Regions from separate parts of the Homo sapiens genome. Here regions 2, 3, 4 and 5 are each linked to region 1. The links are contacts of gene promoters, found by promoter capture Hi-C in blood cells and fetal thymus (Javierre and others, 2016). All regions are on one chromosome and are shown on one strand. Each heading gives the region's core, a stretch centred on a gene start or on the middle of the fragment in contact. The rest is flanking DNA. Distances are from core to core; before and after follow the strand shown. Region 1 holds the start of CHL1 (cell adhesion molecule L1 like). Region 2 overlaps CHL1 (cell adhesion molecule L1 like). Region 3 overlaps CHL1 (cell adhesion molecule L1 like). Region 4 has its middle 22 kb from the start of LINC01986. Region 5 overlaps CHL1 (cell adhesion molecule L1 like).

Evidence for each region. Contacts are between HindIII fragments. The CHiCAGO score rates a contact against its expected background, and 5 or more counts as called.
Region 2: a contact is called between a fragment that was not itself captured here and the fragment with the promoter of CHL1 in region 1, in 1 of 17 cell types (naive B cells). The highest score is 5.0, in naive B cells.
Region 3: a contact is called between a fragment that was not itself captured here and the fragment with the promoter of CHL1 in region 1, in 2 of 17 cell types (naive B cells and total B cells). The highest score is 7.6, in naive B cells.
Region 4: a contact is called between a fragment that was not itself captured here and the fragment with the promoter of CHL1 in region 1, in 2 of 17 cell types (naive B cells and total B cells). The highest score is 6.9, in naive B cells.
Region 5: a fragment that was not itself captured here is called in contact with the fragment with the promoter of CHL1 in region 1 in 2 of 17 cell types (naive B cells and total B cells); the score reaches 21.2 in naive B cells.

Annotation. Positions count from the first base shown.
Region 1 is chr3:195,406-198,155 of GRCh38, reverse strand. It overlaps CHL1 (cell adhesion molecule L1 like), which reads right to left and starts at 1,393. Exons shown (of 28, transcript NM_006614.4): 1 at 1,093-1,393. It overlaps CHL1-AS2 (CHL1 antisense RNA 2), which reads left to right and starts at 815. Exons shown (of 4, transcript NR_144487.1): 1 at 815-1,189; 2 at 1,648-1,700; 3 at 2,116-2,160; 4 at 2,242-2,398. The HindIII fragment of the contact is 3,854 bases long and covers 1-2,750 here.
Region 2 is chr3:402,038-404,787 of GRCh38, reverse strand. The region is part of intron 27 of CHL1 (cell adhesion molecule L1 like); the gene reads right to left. Among named protein-coding and RNA genes, the nearest start is that of CHL1-AS1, 18 kb to the right of the region's middle. The HindIII fragment of the contact is 3,393 bases long and covers 1-2,750 here.
Region 3 is chr3:376,103-378,852 of GRCh38, reverse strand. CHL1 (cell adhesion molecule L1 like) reads right to left here. Exons shown (of 28, transcript NM_006614.4): 16 at 911-1,035. All of the region lies in intron 2 of CHL1-AS1 (CHL1 antisense RNA 1), which reads left to right. Among named protein-coding and RNA genes, the nearest start is that of CHL1-AS1, 8.3 kb to the left of the region's middle. The HindIII fragment of the contact is 5,236 bases long and covers 1-2,750 here.
Region 4 is chr3:32,539-35,288 of GRCh38, reverse strand. No RefSeq gene overlaps it. Among named protein-coding and RNA genes, the nearest start is that of LINC01986, 22 kb to the right of the region's middle. The HindIII fragment of the contact is 771 bases long and covers 1,039-1,809 here.
Region 5 is chr3:336,761-339,510 of GRCh38, reverse strand. All of the region lies in intron 5 of CHL1 (cell adhesion molecule L1 like), which reads right to left. Among named protein-coding and RNA genes, the nearest start is that of CHL1-AS1, 48 kb to the left of the region's middle. The HindIII fragment of the contact is 3,244 bases long and covers 1-2,750 here.

The sequences.
Region 1 (2,750 bases), core at 144-2,643:
CCGCCCAGCAGCCCAAACGCCCACCCTGCGCTCCACCCTGCTGGCCGTCTGGGGCGGGGGTACCTGGGCCCGCGCGGCTGCTGCTCCTCCGGCCCGTGGTTTTTCGCAGGAGTTCCCCGGCCCTGCCCCTGGCTGAGACACTGTGGCTCGCAGCGAGCCCGGAGAGTGGGAACGGAGGGGCTGGCTTTCCCCAGCCTCCCGGCTCCAATCCCTGCTCCCCAAATTAATCACTTTCTCCGTGCTGCCTCCCCACGCACACTCACACTCCAAAAAAAAAAAAAAAGCGAGAGAAAGAGAGAGGCACAAAGAGGAAGAAGGGACCATCCGCGACCGGCATCTCCAGCCCCCCGGGCTCCGCTACCAGGAGCCATGGCAACCACGGCCCCCGGCGCGCCCTCTCGCCCCTCGGCGGTCTGGGGAGGTGGAGCTCTAGCCCCTCTCTGGGTTTTCGTGCTCCCCAACCCCACAACCCCACGGTCCATGGATTCCCCGCTCCAGGCTGGCGGCATTTTCGGAACCCCCCCCGGGCTGGGATCTAGAATCCTCTCCTGAGAGGAGGAGCCACACAGGGGCAGTGGACTGGGGGGGTCTGAGCCCCACACACCAGGCGGTGTCCAGGGGAGCGAGGGGCGCGGTGGGAGACAGAGGCCGGGACTGACCCCCAGACCAGCTAGACCTCGGAGCCCCACCCGAGAGAGGGCGGAGATCTACGGGGGGGTCTGGAATCCTCCTCAGAGAGCAGCGAGGGATGGGGTGGCGGAGGCTGGAAGCGGGAGGGCCAACCTACCGGCGGCCGGCGGGCGTGAGTGGGACCCGGCGGATTCGGGCGCCCGGTGTGCTCCGTCGACTGACCCCGAGCTGTCCGAATCCGGCCTCGGCCACCGGGGGCGGGGCGTGAAAAGGGGGCGTCTCCTCCCGGGTGCAGGCTGAGGGGCCCGGACCACCCCCACTGCGGACGAGGGACCCTGACCGCGCCCCGCTTCCTTTCCATAACGAGTGGACCCCTCCCGGAGCACCTTCAGCCCTTCCTCCACGGGAGACCCCCCCAGCGCCGGCACGAGAGATGCCAGCGGACCCCCACCCCTGACACACCTGCGCCGCCTCCGAAACGCGATCTGTCCGGCGCCTCCCCTCGGGCGCCTTCTCCCCCGAGCCGGCCGGGAGCCGGGACGGGGGCGCGCAGGGTCCGGTAAGCTCTGGGCGGATCCAGGGAGGGTCTCGCCGGCCGCTGCCCGCTGGTCCGCACCCGGGGCTGTCCGCGGAGGTCCCGCCCGTCCCCTCCCGCCGCTGGCTCTCTGGCCGCGGGAAGGCTGGAGCCGTTCTGGCTGGCACCGGGGTCTACGCCCTCCTGCCGGAGGCTGGCTCTCGCCTCTGCTCCCTTCCTGGGTTCTGCGCCGCCACCCCTCACCCACGCCGCTTATCTTCCCTCCCTTTGCACGCTCCCGCGGGACAGGGAGAGTTACAGGCTTCAGACTTTATCTCGTTGTGGAAAGCAAGAGACCAAGCCAAAAACTTTGGTCGTGCTTTTCAACATCTCCGGTCAAAAGAGGTAGGATCCCTGCTCGTTTATCTGCAAAAGCGACATTTAAAAGAAACGCCCCCCACCCCCTCCCCGATGGTTTCACTCGGTTCATGTTGCACACACAGGTCGCCAATCTGCTTTTCTCCCATTGCTGCGTCTTAGAGGGGTGTGGTGCCATGTACGTATTAAAAATTGTCTTCTTGCTTTCCTTCATTTAAGGGCGTGGTGGGGCTTGCTATTGAATTTACAAAATATGCTACGACCATCCGCTGTCAAATTGTGCATGCTTAAATTTACAGATCTTCTACTATCTCACAATTTTTGCCCTAATACAGAGTCTATAATGTTACCACATCGTTTCGTAACGTTTTTCCTACTTATCCTTTATTAATTCACTATTGGAGAGGAAAGCCTTCTGTACTCATATTCAGTGCAAAAAGCCAGTTCTGATGCCTTATGAATCCACAAACACATAAAAATATTTTAGGATTCCAAAATTCATATGGAAAAATTATAATTTTTAGCACTACATTTGATTTATATGCCACTTTATTTTTTTTCCATTATGGTGGTATTTTCCAAAATTTTTACAGGATACCACTTTTGAAAATCCTGTTGAATGCAAGTCCTCTTTGTTGGTAAGAGAATTATTGACTTCTAATTTTTACTCCACTAAGGCTGTGAGATTGACCTTACAGCCTCGTTTTGTTTTCATCTAGCTCATTGAACAATGAGGATATTTAGCTCCCCTCAGAGCTACCCTCAGAGTTGGATGAGCTATCCTCAGAGTTGGATGCCACCACCGGGAGCAGCAAAAGCGAAGGCAACTCATGATTCTGCCTCAGAAGCAATCGAATAAAATATTTTGAAAATGAATGAATGGACTTTTAAATTTTAATCATCGCTAACCTTGGGGCCTCGATTCTGTCAATTTGTGTGTGGGCACAGTTCTTACCAACTGCCTTGGCAAATTGTGAATGCAAGTGAGGGCAGGATTTGTCCTAAGTTTAAATTGTACTGCTGGAGTGATTTCTTTTGCCTGAGGCATCATTATTCACGTGGCATGTTTTCTAAAGTAGAAACAAAGATAGAATATTAAATAAAATTCCAACAGGGGGAAATACTCTGCCTGTAGAAAAACATTTCCAAGGTCAAGGAACCACAAGAGAACAACAAAGCGAAGTTGGTCTCAGGAGTTTACCATCTTCTGGGTGAACAAACATCAGCT
Region 2 (2,750 bases), core at 94-2,593, 210 kb before region 1:
CTGTCATGAACTTTTGGAGCTCCTGGCCTCCAAGTCTTGATCTTCTGCCTTTACTTCTGATCCTTTTGATTCTCTTATATCCTGATAAAATGTTCTTTTTTAAAAATCAATCACATTCTGTTTTTGAAACCAAATAACTTTCTTTAATATAGTTAACAATTCAAGTTTGTTACATTTTAAGACAGAAAGAAATGGCTGGTATTTTAAGAACATAAATAAGTATACTATATTTATGGTAGGTGTTTTATTCATGAACAGAAGCAAATCCATTAGTGAAATGCTTATCAAATGGTATGATCTTCTAAATTTTGGATCAAGATTTTTTTAAGTACCAATTAGTATTACATTATGAAGCTATACACCATATAAAATGATTTTATCAAATTTGATCAATGAAGCATTTGGAAAAAATATAATTTGGATGTACATATCACTTTATAATTTGTGGTATTTGTCAGAGCTGTTCATCAAGTATGTCAGGTTTCTAGGAATAAAGCAGGATGGCACTTCTTTGCCTACTCTGTGTTATATGCCACCATGGAATTTTCTTTGGTTTAAAAAAAAAGTGAGCAAAGGTGACATGTGTCTCTTCCGAGCCAAAGATTTAAAGCCAGTGCTCAGTTTATTACATTCTATTTTCCCTGCTGTGGGGAGCCTGGATGCTCGTCCACCAGCCAGTGCTCCTAAGTGATTAAGATGAAAAGGGCAATCTCTGTGGGACACATAACTTGAGAAAGAAAATGCTTTTGGAGTTGTTTTGACAGCAGCATAACACAGGCTCCCCTGACTGATACGATAATTGGCTCTTGAATTAGGATATTGCAGTTACAAGAACAAATCAAGAAAAACAATGAGGCATCGGCTGAGGAATCAGGAACAAAGAATAAAGAAAAATAACAAAAGGGATGATTATCAGAAGCTAGAAGAATGAGGACTTATGCAAGGGCACAGCATCTTATAAAAGTGTCTCCTGGGATAATGTGGAAAGTAGACAATTATCCTGATAAATATGTAGTTTGGGGGAAAGAGGTTGGAAAACACATCAGCTACTATAAAGGGATGTCATAGGAAATAATGCACAGGAAGATGTTAGCTATCTTTATAAAGGAGCAGCAGGGTGTGGGGAAATGGGTTTTTAGACAAGGCATTGTTTTTGTTTTCTTGCCTGTAAAATTGAGCTAATATTGTCTTTCAAAATTTTTTTTTGCTTGTTTGTTTGTTTGTGTTTTTGTTTTGTTGTTGAGATGGAGTCTCGCTATGTTGCCCAGGCTGGAGTGCAGTGGCACAATCTCAGCTTACTGCAACCTCCGCCTCCTGAGTTCAAGAAATTCTCCTGCCTCAGCTTTTGAAAAGTTGTTGCAGGTCCTTAATGATCATTGCCTCATGGAATTTGTATCTTGTATAATCCTCTTCCTTTGAGTTGTGAGCTAAACTTAATGATTTGTTCCTATAGAATACAACAAAAGTGATGGGATATCACTTCCAATATTAGGTTACAAAAGGACTGTGGCTTCCAACTTGGGTGCTCTCTCTTGCTCCCTGGCTCACACATTCTGAAGGAAGCCAGCTGCCATGTTGTGAATGGCCCCATGGAGATATCTACGTGGTATGGAGTTAGGAATGACCTCTGGCCTGTGAAGAACAGAAGCCCTTAGTTCAACAGCCTGTATGGAACTATATCCTGCCAACAGCCACACGAATGGCCTAGGAATGATTTGTGCTTTGGCTGAAACTTTAGATGAAACCATAGCCCTGGTCAAAACCTTGCTGCAACCTCATGAGAGGTCCTGAGCCAGAAGTACCCATCTAAGCCATGTCTGGATTCCTGAATTATGAGGACATTGAAATAATAAATGTTTATTGTTTTAAGCTGTTGAGTATTGGTGGTTATTGTTATGAGGCAACTGCTAACTAATACAATAGTAATGATCACAATTCGTGAAGTTCCAAAATTCTTTCTTCCTTTTTCTTTTTCTCTCTTTCTTTCTTTCTCTTTATTGTTCTTTATTCTGGAAAGAATTTAAAGTCATTTATTAAGAAATATAAAAATATAAAAAGGGTATTGACTAAGTAGAATACAGAAAAATAAGTATACCACAAAATGGAGGTACAGGTAAGCCCAAATGTCTACCAATTAGCTAATGAAAATACTCCATATCCCTTGCTAGAGTAATGAATCCAGAGATGAGAGAATCAGGATCAATCAGATTTCTTCTTTAATATAAACTCTGGTTTCCCATGTGCTAAAATCAATACAAACCTGGAACTTACAATATGTCTGTTGGCTGAAATATACAGGAGACCTGAGAAAAATGATGACATTACAACAAAAAAGAACTAAGAAGTTGAGAGAGTAGCAGAAAGGGGAAGGTGGAGAAAGATAAAAGGAGAATGAGACAGTTTAACACGTCCCCGAAAGATTCCTACCTAGCTCAGAGTAGACTTCTTGCCATTCCTCCCTTGCCCGACACACCCTCACTCATTTGGTCATCCTCTGTCCAGTGGTTAACAGTAACACAATACTTTTTATCCTTTAAGGCTTAGCTTATCTCTTATGGATGATTCTTTTTCCAAAATCCTACCTGGGCAGAAACAGTTACTCTCTTTTGTGCTCTTTTATTCTATTTAATTCATTACAGTCATTTGCATATATAGGATATTTTTCTCTGCTGATCAGGTTCATCTAGAGGACAGGGTTTGTAACTTACTTACCTTTGCAGGTGCAACGCTGTAGGTATACAGATATGCGT
Region 3 (2,750 bases), core at 103-2,602, 180 kb before region 1:
CAGTAGGTTGGGTGTGAGAGAGACTTGAAATATTGGTGGTGGGATGCAGCTGCTAGAGCCTCATCAGAAGGAATGGTGTGAGGAGACCCTGTCTGCAGAAGCCATGACTTTGGCAGTGGGACACAGCCAGTCCACAGGGATGGAGTAGGGAGAATCAGTACAACACTCCAAACGGCCCTCCACTTGCTGAACCAAATAATAGCTGGAAGGAAAGTGGTTTGCTGATGTTGTCCTTAAAAGCAACCTTTCTAGGTCAAAGAGCTGGTAGAGAGTGAATCTGGAAGGGAAATTTTGGAAAACATCCAGCAGATGGTCTAAGAGCTTTAAACATTGGTGATTTCAGGAGTAATTGCATTGATTATACTAGTGAAGTGTGCACACTGTTTCCTGATTAGTACTTTCATCAACAACAACAACGACAAAAATCAAAGACATTCCTTTGTAGAATGCTGGAAGTTCCTCTCCATCCTTCCTGGAACCCTGGGAACTCAGTCTGTGCCTTTGGTTTAGAGATGACCACCGTGCATCCACCTCTTGACCCCTATCGAGATCCTCCAGTCTAGCCCACCTCCATTCCTCAGCCCCATTTCTTTGTACACCAGGAAAGAGTAGCTCAAGAGTGCTAGGAACTCAAGCGTGCTTTATTTTTCTTTCTGCGGATAGCATCACTTACCTCCCACTGCTATTGGCAAATTAACACATGTAGGGAAAAAAAATTAAGCATTAATTAATTTCTTTTATATGAAAAAAGGAGAAAGGATTTGAAGTTGTGTTGCTTTTTAAACAAAAATTTGAAACTAACAATATATGTGCAGGGGCTCAAAGAATCATTAGCTTTATTGGCCAGGAACGATGGGATTTAATCAGAAATGAAGAAATGAACAGATTTCTCATTAGTTAGTGCACTTACCAAGAACAGTTACTTGAGTTATATCGGCAGCACTGTCTAGAGCAGTATGAGCTGAACAGCAGTAAATACCTTGGTCCTCTAAAGTTACATTAGATATGGTCAAATTAGCTCCATCAATAATTATCCTATCAGAAAAAAAGTGAGTACATGATGAGAAGGAAAACAATAGAAATGATAGAAACCCAATTCTTTTAAAAATGCATATTCCTTATCGAAAACAATCTAAGAGTGAAAGATGACTTTATGCAATGCAAATTTGATTAGAGAATGCCACAGTTGAAACCTGGAGATAAAGAATTATTCTAGCATACACAACTGTCTACATAGCCATAAACAAAATCACATTAAAAATTATGAAATCTAACCATCTGTTTGCATGGGTCAGTGATGGAACTGTATGTTGCCTGGCATGTTTAAAGAGTGCATCATACCTCACAATGGCCAAGATATATTTGAGTAATTCTTAAGGTATGTTTAGGGAATCACCTATATAGGCTCGATTGGAGTGCTTCCTACAAAGGCAGATTCCTGAATTCCATCTCCATTCCACAGAACCAGAATACCTGAGAAGGAGTCGGATAATCTCAGTTTTTCACAAGTTTCTCTTTTCTCCGCCCCTCCACTCCCAAGTACAATGCACATTAAGATCAGATAGCAATTGAAGCATATGACTTATTTGAACAGAAGATGGCAGTGTAGTACTTCTTTTTGCAAATCATTTCACCTCACTTTTTATCATTTGTTTTTACCAATTTGTGATCAGGTTTACTATGAGAAAACTGCTTCTTTATAAACTTCACCTTTTACCCCGTACCATTGTTGAGATAACTATTAAAGTATTTTTCAAGTTCCGTAAAATTTAAAATGTATTCATAATAATTAGCATTTTGTTGAAATAACTTAAATAGTGTCATCCTTGTGAGGAGGAAAGGAGGCTCACATAATTAATATTTTTATGTACATTTCATATAAAATGCTGAGAATTTTGAATTATATAAACCTACTTTAAATTGCAGTGTAATGAAACATAGTTATTTTGATTATAGACAGAATCAGCCCTTATTCCTACACCAATAATAGAAAGATTTGCCAACCAATATTACCTTGAATTGTTAATCAAGAATCTCACCATAATTCTAGACATAATAAAACTTTGACATGAATTAACATGTCAGGTCATGTTACTCAGGTGTCCATTTGATACAATATTAGAATACTGCATATCCTGACAATTTTTGAAAAATGTACCTTCTTAGATGAAAGAATATACTTTAATAACCTCTTGAAATAGGACTTCTGTGCCCTGCACGAGGGCCCATAGTAGCTGAAATCTTGCCAAGATTTATACCCTGGCACGGGGTGTTTCAGGCCAGAGAAGAAAGCTACCAATTTTTTTGGCAAGTCATGGTTGCACTATGCCTTGTTTCCAGTCTCACAAATGTATCTTAGGTGCCTCCAATTAATCAACGTTGGGTGCCTCACTAGTCCTCGAAATGTGGTAGGTATGGTATACCTAAAGAACTTATTAAAAATGTCGTGTTCCAGCCTCAGTCCAGGTTCCAAATCAGTACATTTGGAGATGGGGCAAGGGCCATTGCATTTGAACATGAAGCCTGGATAATTCTGTCACATGTCAAAATCACAAATAGTTGTCACACATAGGGTCACACAGAAAATCACACACGGGGTCACACTATGGTGTGCTGCAGTAACAGACAGCTCCAAATTCCCCATGCCCAAGAAAACAGTCACTTATTCCTCCCTCACATTATGTTCCCATCATAGGTCAGCTGGGATTCTGCTTTAAAAAGTTGTATCATTTCTACTCTCATAACACTTG
Region 4 (2,750 bases), core at 175-2,674, 160 kb after region 1:
TTATTAGTTAACCAAGGCTGCCATAACAAAATGCCACAGACTGGTATTCTCTCATAGTCCTGGAGGCTGGAAGTCCAAGATCTAGGTGTCAGCAGGCTGGTTTCTCCTGAGGCCTCTCCTTGGTTTGCTGCCTTCAAGCTGTGCCCTTGTATGGTCTTTTCTCTGTGCATGTGCCTTCCTGGTGTCTCTTCTTCTTATAAGGACACCAGTCCTATTGGATTAGGGTCCCACTCTTAAGACCTCGTTTAATCTTAATTACCTCTTTAATGGTCCTATCTCCAAATACAGTCATATTGGGGTTAAACTTTCAACATAATAAACATTCGTGGGTCACAATTCAGTCCATTCCATCCCTGTAAACATTTAGGTTTATGAATGCTTACATCAATTTGTAATTTTTTATGTTGGGAGGAGCCATTGAGCAGGACTCAACATAGGAGAGGCAGAAGGGGACTTGGATGTCATTAGCTTGTCTTCCTAACTGAAATAGCTCCTACATCATTGCTGCTGTCCAATCAACTTTTGCTTCAGCCTTTCCGAGATAGCTAAATGGTCTGGCTAATCACTGCCAACCAAGTCGTTTTCCATCAAATCACATTGTTTTGATTGATCAGCTAGCATTTGTGGAAAGATTTTGCCTGTCTTGTCATTCATTGCATCATGTAAAGTCTTGCTTATATAAATCCCTGGGAAGAGTTCCTTCCTGATAATGTTGATGGTAGTTGCCCTGCTGTTCTTTTGAGCAACTGGTCTCTTAAAAAAAAAAATCATTGGGACAATGTGTTTTGCATAAAAGCCCATATTTCCTATTTGGCTGGTCACCGTAAAGCAGAGATGTCTACTCTTTTGGCTTCCCTGGGCCACACTGGATAAAGAATTGTCTTGGGCCACACATAAAATACACTAACACTAGTGATAGCTGATGAGCTTTAAAAAAATCACCTAAAAATCTCATAATGTTTTAGGAATGTTTACAAACTTATGTTGGGCCACATTCAAAGTCGTGGGCCACAGGTTGGCCAAGCTTGCCGTAAAGCTTACAAACACAGGGGGAGGCTATGCCACTTAGAAACCAAGAAGGGCCTGCAGGCTGGCATAATGCCTCACAATTGTAATCCCAGCACTTTGGGAGGCTGAGGTGGAAGGATCGCTGCAGCCCAGCAGTTTGAGACTAGCCTGGGCAATATGGTGAAATCTCCTCTTTACAAAAAATAAACAAGATTAGCAGCGTGTGGTGGCACGTGCCTGTGGTTCCAGCTACTTCGGATGCTGAGGTGGGAGGATCACGTAAGTCCAAGAGGTTGAGGCTGCAGTTAGCCGGGATCATGCCACGGCACTCTAGCATCGACAACAGGATGAGACTCTGCCCCACCGTCCCCACTCCTGAAAAAAAGTGCCTGGAGTCAGAAAGTGTAAACTCAAAATCTTCCCCTGCACTCACTAAGTGTTTAGTTTTGGGCAAGTTACTTATTCTCTTAGAAGCCTGGTGTCCTCACCTGTAAATTGAAAAACACATTAAAGGTAAATGTTCTTTGTCCAGTTCTTGGCAAAGTTTTATGTGTTCAGGAATCACCCGGGGCCTTGTTAAAATGTAGATGAATCAACAGATTTGGGATGAGGCCAGAGTTTCTGCATTTCTCACAAATCCCAGGTGACGCTGATGCTGTTGTTCTGTGGACTGCACTTTGAGTGGCAGGGTCTTTGAGGATTAAATGAGATACAGGTGGAAAGCAGCTAGAACCCTGCTTCTCACATTATAAGAATCCAACATACCTTTCCTCCAAGGGTTAGTGTTATTCAGATGAAGCTTGTAGGTCAGTATAATCTGCCTTGTAGGAGGATTCATTGTAATATGATTGTGGTATTCCTTTGTGCATATCCTTGCACCCCCTTGAATTCATGCAGTTGCATCATACTTTATGTATTTTAGAAACCACCTGAAATCCTTTTTCATAAAAGAAGATTATATAAATTAAATACATTGATAAATAGACAATGAGAATGTACTTTTAAAAATGAATTTAAAATAATGTGATTCCAAAAAACTAAATCAGAGTACCCATTGTAATCACCACCACTCCCTAATCAGTAAGACACTTCCACATACTGCACCCTGGTGCACCTTATCATGCCTACTTTTCCATGACCCCGAACTTGCACACCATAATCCAGTTTTTCCTAACTTCTTTCAGGTCTTTCAAAAGTATTATATATGCGAGTGTCCTGGCCTTTGTTTTTGCTATTTTGTCTGATATTCTTTATCCTTCCCTCTGCTTCAGATCTCAGCTTAGATGCCACTTCCTTCAGGAAGTTGCCTGATCACCCTCTTAGATCTGAGTTTCCTGCCCCTTCAGGGGCTCTCATAGGACCTTTCTGTACTCTTATCTCGCTGCATTTCAAAATGTATCATAGCTCCTTATTTACTAATTGGTCCCTGTCACCTCCCATCCCCCCAATCTTTAAACTTCAGGAAGTCAAGAGCACTATGCTTATGTCCTGTTATATTCTTAATACTTAGAACAGTGCCTAATTGTTATTACAGTAAGCACCATAATGAAGACTCAATAAATATATGCTCCATTAATGATGAATGGATGAGTGGATAGATGGACGGATGAATAGATATAAAAGCAGATATCTCCATTGTTTGAGGATTTCATACAACATTTATTAGCAACAACTTGAATTAATTTTATTCAGCCTGAAATCCCTGAACATAACAATCATCTCAAAATCCATACACTTACTGG
Region 5 (2,750 bases), core at 122-2,621, 140 kb before region 1:
GGGTTTCCTCTTGCTCAACTCGTTCTATAAGATTCCTTTTAGAAAGTCTCTGGAAACATTTTTGAAATAGCAACCATCTTTGAATCACATTTTTGCTATAGGTAGCATGAAATTTCCCTCAAAAGTCGGGAAAGTATGTTTAGTATATTCACTACATTAAGAGCTTGTAGATAAAACATCATGCCAGCTATTTGGTAAAGCCTCGGCTTTGATTGACATCAAATGCTATGGAAAACATTTTGCAGAAAGTACACCTTATAGACATAAGGCATAGTAATATACAAAACGTTTATGTACCCAAATCTCCAAATTGAACCACTTATTTAGTTTTATTCGCTGTAACTTAAGCCCAGTAAACACTGGCATTGAAGTCAGTGGTGCTGTTGGGTAGTTGGTGAATCTATCTATACTCAGATACAAGAGGCAGCAGAGGAAATAAAATATGGATTAGAAAATGGAAAGGGCATGTAATCCACTTCGATAACAAGCAAACTATACAGTCCCTAATATGAATACACAGTTCACTGGATAATATCTATTGTAAAGTAGTTAATTAATAAGATGTATAAATCCCTAATTGGAGAGCTGCTCCCTGAGAGCGTTAAAAAAAACCTAGCAATTCGAACAGATAGTACTGCCACTGAAGCATTATCATCCTTGCATTAATTAAATCTAGATTATACAATTCTAATTCTGAAAATGTAAATTTGTAATTCAACTGGCTTCTAAGGCACCAACAATAAAAAAGAAAAGAAAATTTATAACTCTACCAAAACTGCTATCGCGTGCCATAAATCTTCAGAACAGCTTTTAACTAAATACAAAATGAATATTGGAAAACAGGGACGCATACTTATACATCAATAAATTTAAGGTTTTAGAAGATATATAAATGGCATTAATTTTTCAGGAATTTTTTATGTCTTATCCTTTGACTCTGAAACTATTTAGTGAGTTTGATGGCACGATAAAAAGTGAAAATTTTAACACTCACAGATAAATGTGAACTTTAATTACTATAACACAGCAGCTAACATGAAGTCTACCTCAATTCAGATAAAGAAATGACTCCATTTAAAAATAAATCCAACCAGTGGCATTTACTGTGTTTATCTGGTGACAAACATTAGCATTGCTGAGTTTGGACAACAGTAATATTTTTAAAAGTAAATTAAAAAAATATTTTTTTCGGTAAATGAGGTAATTACACTCCTTTATCTTGCCAATATATTTCACATGGGTACTTCATCAACACCAAAACCAAAAATCACTTAACTTTGTTTCAACAAGACTGGACTTGATCCTGAATGGCCTCTCTGCAAAGGGATCAGAATCAACTTGCACATAACAGTCTAGCTAAGCAGAATTTCAAGAATGTTTGCACTTTGGGAGGCCGAGGTGGGCGGATCACAAGGTCAGGAGATCGAGACCATCCTGGCTAACATGGTGAAACCCCGTCTCTACTAAAAATGCCAAAAAAAGGTGCTGGAGAGGATGTGGAGAAATAGGAACACTTTCAAACTGTTGGTGGGACTGTAAACTGGTTCAACCATTGTGGAAGACAGTGTTATTCCTCAGGGATCTAGAACTAGAAATACCATTTGACCCAGCCATCCCATTACTGGGTATATACCCAAAGGATTATAAATCATGCTGCTATGAAGACACATGCACACATATGTTTATTGTGTCACTATTCACAATAGTAAAGACCTGCAACCAACCCAAATGTCCTGGAACCAACAATGATAGACTGGATTAAGAAAATGTGGCACATATACACCATGGAATACTATGAAGCCATAAAAATGATGAGTTCATGTCCTTTGTAGGGACATGGTTGAAGCTGAAAACCATCATTATCAGCAAATTATCGCAAGGACAAAAAACCAAACATTGCATGTTCTCACTCATAAGTGGGAATTGAACAATGAGAACACTTGGACATAGGAAGGGGGACATCACACACCGGGGCCTGTTGTGGGGTGGGGGGAGAGGGGAGGGATAGCATTGGGAGACATACCTAATGTAAATGATGAGTTAATGGGTGCAGCACACCAGCATGGCACACGTATACATATGTAACTAACCTGCACATTGTGCACATGTACCCTAGAACTTAAAGTATAATTTAAAAAATATATATAAAAAAATTAGCCGGGCGTGGTGGCGGGCGCCTGTGGTCCCAGCTACTCGGGAGGCTGAGGCAGGAGAATGGCGGGAACCCGGGAGGCGGAGCTTGCAGTGAGCAGAGATTGTGCCACTGCCCTCCAGCCTGGGCGACAGAGCAAGACCCCGTCTCAAAAAAAAAAAAAAAAACAAAAACAAAAGAATGTTTGGAAATCCCATTATAACCAAGTCTAGATGAGATCAATTTCCTTTCTATCTAATGCCACTATTAATCCATTTGCATCAGCAAAGCAAGCATATCACAGCATCTATCTTTTCACTCTTCTCCATTAGGCTTTCACATTTATTATTCAGTGTCATAGACAGATTTCTAGCAACAACTAACACCAAGGGTATAAGTGACATTCAAATATATTCACATCTAGGTTTTTGAAAACTTCCCCAGTTGAAATCCATCATGGAAACACTTCCCTACAGACAAGCTAGCTGCACAGGAGTCTTATTACCACAACTATCAAGGCACAACCAACCTGCAGATACAAAATTTGCAGGAGCTCTATGACTTCAGATGCTGTCAATGAGTTTTGAAAACTCATCATCCCAATTATTTCAACATAATA